Linked DNA regions of Homo sapiens: region 1 is linked to region 2. The links are contacts of gene promoters, found by promoter capture Hi-C in blood cells and fetal thymus (Javierre and others, 2016). All regions are on one chromosome and are shown on one strand. The core of a region is centred on a gene start or on the middle of the fragment in contact, and the rest is flanking DNA. Distances in the headings are between cores, read along the strand shown. Region 1 overlaps TEX41 (testis expressed 41). Region 2 holds the start of LINC01412 (long intergenic non-protein coding RNA 1412).

The links. Contacts are between HindIII fragments. The CHiCAGO score rates a contact against its expected background, and 5 or more counts as called.
Region 1: a fragment that was not itself captured here is called in contact with the fragment with the promoter of LINC01412 in region 2 in 1 of 17 cell types (neutrophils); the score reaches 5.1 in neutrophils.

Annotation. Positions count from the first base shown.
Region 1 is chr2:145,052,881-145,055,580 of GRCh38, forward strand. All of the region lies in intron 3 of TEX41 (testis expressed 41), which reads left to right. All of the region lies in intron 3 of LOC100505498 (a long non-coding RNA gene), which reads left to right. Among named protein-coding and RNA genes, the nearest start is that of LINC01966, 170 kb to the left of the region's middle. The HindIII fragment of the contact is 4,878 bases long and covers 1-2,700 here.
Region 2 is chr2:144,520,531-144,523,230 of GRCh38, forward strand. LINC01412 (long intergenic non-protein coding RNA 1412) reads left to right here and starts at 1,338. Exons shown (of 3, transcript NR_110570.1): 1 at 1,338-1,396. ZEB2-AS1 (ZEB2 antisense RNA 1) reads left to right here. Exons shown (of 4, transcript NR_040248.2): 4 at 224-369. The HindIII fragment of the contact is 4,746 bases long and covers 1,179-2,700 here.

The DNA of each region.
Region 1 (2,700 bases), core at 199-2,698, 530 kb after region 2:
CAGCTGCTAGCTTGGCTGGTCCAAAGGTTTCAAAATAGTTTAACTTGTATGTTGGTGGCTTGGTGGGGGCGGGCCAATAAATTAAGCTCAGCTGGGACCCTCTTCCTTCCCATGTGGTCTCAGGGCCTTTCCAGGTGGTATCTTCAGCAGGGTATTCAACCTTACCATATGGCAGCTCATGGCTCAAAAAGGGGTATTACAAGGAGACTGGGTGAGCTCTAAGGGGCTTCTTATGACCTAGCCTCAGCCTCAGAAGTAGTTGAATTTACTTGCATTTGATTCAGTAAGCAAACACTAGGGTCAGCCCTGATTTAAGTGGAGAGGAATTATACTTGAAAGAGAAGTCTAGAAAATAATTTGTGGCTATCTTTAATCTACACCTTCCATCTTCTGGCCATGAATTGTTTACTTTCTCTAACATATAAAATACTTTCATCTCCTCCCAAAGTCTGCAAAAGTTTCATTCTCTTATGGCATCAGCTGGTAGTCCAGAATTTTGTCAATTAAATCAGGACCATGTACTCTCTGCACTCTTGCTTCCCCCTGCCACAATATGCAGGGTTGGGATAGAGATAGAGTTATTACAACAAATAATCCAGTTGTATAAGGTTCACAGCAATTTCTGAAATCCAGCATGGTTTGGGGCTTGTTGACTCCCTAAAAATGATTCTCCATGAGTCTTGGCTATACCCTCTGGGTTCCTGATTCTTCCCTTTGAGTTATCCTTTCTTTTCCAATAGAAATTACCAATATTTACATCTACATGTTAATAGCTTTCTCAACCAGCTCTGTAGCTGTAGAAGTTTTGAGGTTCAAAGCCCTCTTATTTTGTACAATTTCTGTCCATTTTAGTCTAACCCAATGTAATTAATTTAAAAAGTTTTTGATTTTTTTTCTTTTTTAATTTTTTTGAAACAGGGTCTTGCCATATTGCCCAGGCTGGTCTTGAACTTGTGGCCTCAAGCAATTCTCCCACCTCAGCTTCTTGAGTAGCTGGGATTACAGGCCTCAGCTCCTGTTCCTGGCTCAGTTTTTGGTTTCTTAGTTATCACTGAATAATATACTCCTTTAGAGAAAAGCCATGTCTACAAATCTCTTTGAGATTAACCCTTTATCTTAGGCTCCCTATGAGACTGCTGAGTGAAAACACCCTAAAACCTCTTAGAAACTTCACTGTCTACTGATGAACGTTTTCTTAGTATGACCCCTTCTGTAGCCCATGCTTTCCTCAGAACCTAATCCACTACATCAGTGCTTTTACATTCATTCCCATGCTCTGTAGTGTCCTCATGGCCACTATCACCAAAGAATACATAGTTCCTATATAGAAGGTGTACATTTTTTTTCTGGCACTTGCTAAGTTTCCCTACCACTAGCTATAACCCCCAACATGCCACCCCATTTTTCATAGTCTACTGCTGCTTCTGTTGCCTCTTTCCGCAGGGATTTCTGAAAGGCTTTGTCAGCCTCAGCTGCTTTAATCAACACTTACACAATTTGAAATTTATCTTGCTATTTCCCTGGAAATGGAGTTCACGAATTTTGTTGTTGCTGTTTTCCTTACTGCGTAGAGTCCAAGAGAGGAGAGAAGACTCAGATCTAACCTGCTACCATCTTACTACCAGAATTAAAATGAAATTATTTTAATATTCTTATATATTTTTTAAAATGATCCCTCTTAGGGATGTGTGTCAGAATGATAAGGGGTAAAAAAGAACATTTTGAAACAGCCGATTTGATATTACCTTAATTTGTATGAACACAATTTATTGAGGCCACTTGGGTATCACAATTTTTATTAACAAGTAATATGTCAAATGAGACACCCCATCGTTCATTTCAGTAATGAGTTCAGATGGGGGTGAGAGTTAGAGATAAGATGAGAAAGTATATTGCATATATTAATGAGTAAAGTGGAAAGGAGGAAAAGGAGATTGGCTAAGAGGAGGGGAACAATGTCTAACAGCTAGTTTATAAGAAGTGACAAAATGAACTGAAGTCAAAGCAACTAAATGGAGAAGGCTGTCTGAATGGACTTCTCAATGAATATGACATTAATGTCGGAGGAAAAGTCCACAGTGTATTTACACTGAAAGAAGCATGCATGTATTATAAAATCCAACATAAAAGTTAAATGAAGTTTTAAGTCAAAATAAAAGATTCTATCTGGAATTCTCTTCAACCTGATCACATAGCTGGCTCTCATCATTCAATTCTCAGGTTAAATGTCACCTGTTGAGGAAAGACTCTGAATTCCCAACCCAAAGTACTCCCTAAATCTCCACCTCATTAGCCCATTTTATTCATAATAGCACATTTCACTCCGTTTTCAGTTTATTTACTTTTCATTTTTATGATCCTTTGTTCCATTCATCCCAATCAATTATCAGCTCCATTACAATGATATCTTCCAGATCTTTTCAACGCTATTTTCTCTACATCTGGACAGATCCTGGTGCCTAGTAGGACCACAATAACATTTTGTTTGTGAATAATAGAGACGGCATGGAAATTTCAGCCTGTCAACAGCATGCCACAGGGGTTTCCACTTGCAGGGATCTAGTCCTTCTTTTCTGCTCTTAGGCATACTTAGATGCAGGTGGGAGTTTGTTCCAACAAATTGGTTATTTATAATATATAAGAAGCTAAAGACTGTATCATTTTTCTGTTGCATTGGATCATCTCATCAGCACTCATTAA
Region 2 (2,700 bases), core at 88-2,587:
GTACAGGGCGGAAAACGGTGCACACCATTCACAGAACTGGAGAACTCCAAGGGGCGAAAGTTAAAGGGAAAGATCCCGGGTCCTCAATCCAGATAGTCTCTTCTTATACAGATATCTCTAATGACCAGATTTGAGATGCACATCAAATTGTGTAGGTATCTCAGTACAGCTTCTGGAACAAAGTTCTCTGCCCTTTCTCTTATTGTTATTTTTTTCTTTTTAGGTACCAGAGCCAGAAAAAAAAATGCTGCATGGGAGCTGCATCTTAGGGCATGTGTATTAGGGTGTGTGCATGATGAATTTCTGGACTGGATCCCAATATTAAAAAGTAGTTTGGCATTTTAATAAAGGGTCTCTAAGTAAATTAAAATAGAACACTCGGTTGGCCGATCTCTGAATCTCTCTACACCTCGGGGAGACCTCACTACAAAGTAAGGGAGAGTGTGTAGGGAGGCAGGAGGAGAAACGAGAAAGGCCATAGAGAAACTTAGCAGGGAAGGGAGAGCATGATATTAAACGGCATGGGGTCTAAGTTTTGGAGTATATATTTTTTGATATTACAATTAAAGTAAGATTAAAAAGAAAAGACTCCACCTTTGCTCTGAAGGGATTGGTTATGCAAATATGGAAGGGATTTCCTGGAGAATACAGCTTTCTACTGTATGGTTAATTAAATAATCACTCAAAAGCTTCCAACGTGACGCTTCTGTCGTAATCCAATCAGGTTACATAGGTCCTAAACAAGAAAGATATTTTCCACATCTGGAAGTCAGCAATTTAGCAAGTACTGCACATTATTAACCAATTCAGAGCCCACTTCCCAGGGGAATTTTTTTGAAGTTTAAGTGTTCTTAACCAATGCTCTGCTGTTTTGTTAATCAAAAAGCTGGTTTACACTGCACATAATTGGAACTAATATAGAAGTAAATAAAGACAGCCAAATTTGAGGATGCTGAGCACAGGCATTTATCGGAAAAGGAAGAAATCTCCTATCCTCGGATGGTTCAGGCTCAATTTCTTAAATAACTGTGAGACTTTTTTTTTTTTCCTAAAGAGTGAAAGTGCTTGAGAACCTCAGAGCACAAATAAACTTCTAGCCTCACAGCATTTAGGATTCTTCGGAAAGGTAAAGGTGGAGGTGTTAAGAGGACCAGAGAGCTGCCTCACACCAATTTTTAAGCTTTAATATTGTTAAATATGTTACACCCTCCTGTTTCCAGTCTGATGAAATCTGAAACAAATAATACCCTGATCCAACACTATATTAAGATAAACTGCTTTGAACTGTGCTTTGAATGTGTGCCTAAAGCAAGACTTTGAATGCAAGAGTCACTGGCAATTGCACTCAAAGGAGGGACAAGCCACCACATGGGTTGCCACATCCACACTCCCAGAGGTATACGTCTTTGTATTTTGTATTTTTTTTTGCGGGGCGGGGGAGTGGGGTGGGGGTGGTTAATAGCTACCTAGCACGACCACAGCTAGATCTTGTTCTAGGATGCAAGAAAGTAGATTTTCACAGTTGGTTACTCACCTCTTTCCTAATTTAAGTATTTATTATAATGAAAATAGCTGCTGGATAAATTAACTCTCTCCCCCCACCCCATCACAGATAAAGTGTCTATAGAAGAAAGGCATTCAGGATCTTCAGCTTAAAAATTATTAATAAATAAAATCAAAGATTTTCAACATGGGTCAGGCACATTCTTAATTTTATATTTTACATTTCTTTCATTATTATATATCTATACTAAATATATGTGTGACTTATCAAGTTCCTCTTCTGAGATTTAGCACCACTGTTCATGTCCATTTTTCTTCCTCTTCCTTTTTTTCCTCTTTTTTAATTTAAAAGATTGGAATCCAGCTTTCTCTAGACGTTTGCTTTACAGCCACCCTTCCACCACTCCTAAGGAAGAAGGAGCCCTTTGCATAGAGTTATTACAGGCAAGACTCCTCTTCAGGCACCCAGGTAGCCATTGGAGGCTTACAGACCAGACACACACACAAGCATAACCTCAGGTCAAAGGATCCAATCGAATAGCTAACAAAACACTTGTCTTTATTATGTATATTAAATGTCAGGTTACTTAGGATCTGACTTAAAAAAAAAAAAAAAAACCCTAAGTATTTCCATTAAAAACACCTAATCATCTGATTACCCTGGACTCAGGAATTGCTCAAGTGGCAGGAGGCAGTCCCCAACATTTATCACTGGGAGTTCCGACTAGCCAGTATTTGATTTGGGGTGAAAAAGCAGTCTTCCAGGTTCCCATGAAGGTAGATATTTGGATGGTGGCACGGGAAGGGTCTCCGCGAGGGGTGAGCGCTGCGGCTAGGTTGCCTTGCCCCTGGTTCCTGACTGGCACGCCCCTCCCCAGGCATTTGGCCGAGAGAGTTCCCAACGTGGCAGAGGTGATGGGGTCGGGAGGAAGCCGGAATATAAATTTGTTCCGAACACTCCCTCAGTCCGAGGGCCAGTTCGGGGACAATGGGGATCGTGGGATCAGGAGGATGCAGGAGCACAGGACGCAGAGAAAAGTCGAGAGAGGACTGGGGGCTGCTGGCTTTCGGCTCCTCACACAGCAAAATAAGTCCTGCAAATGAATCTCTCCTTCTCTGTCTTCCCCATTAATAATCCACTTCGAGATTAGCGCAGACGAAAGAGATTAAAACAACAGATACACGGAAATGTGAAAT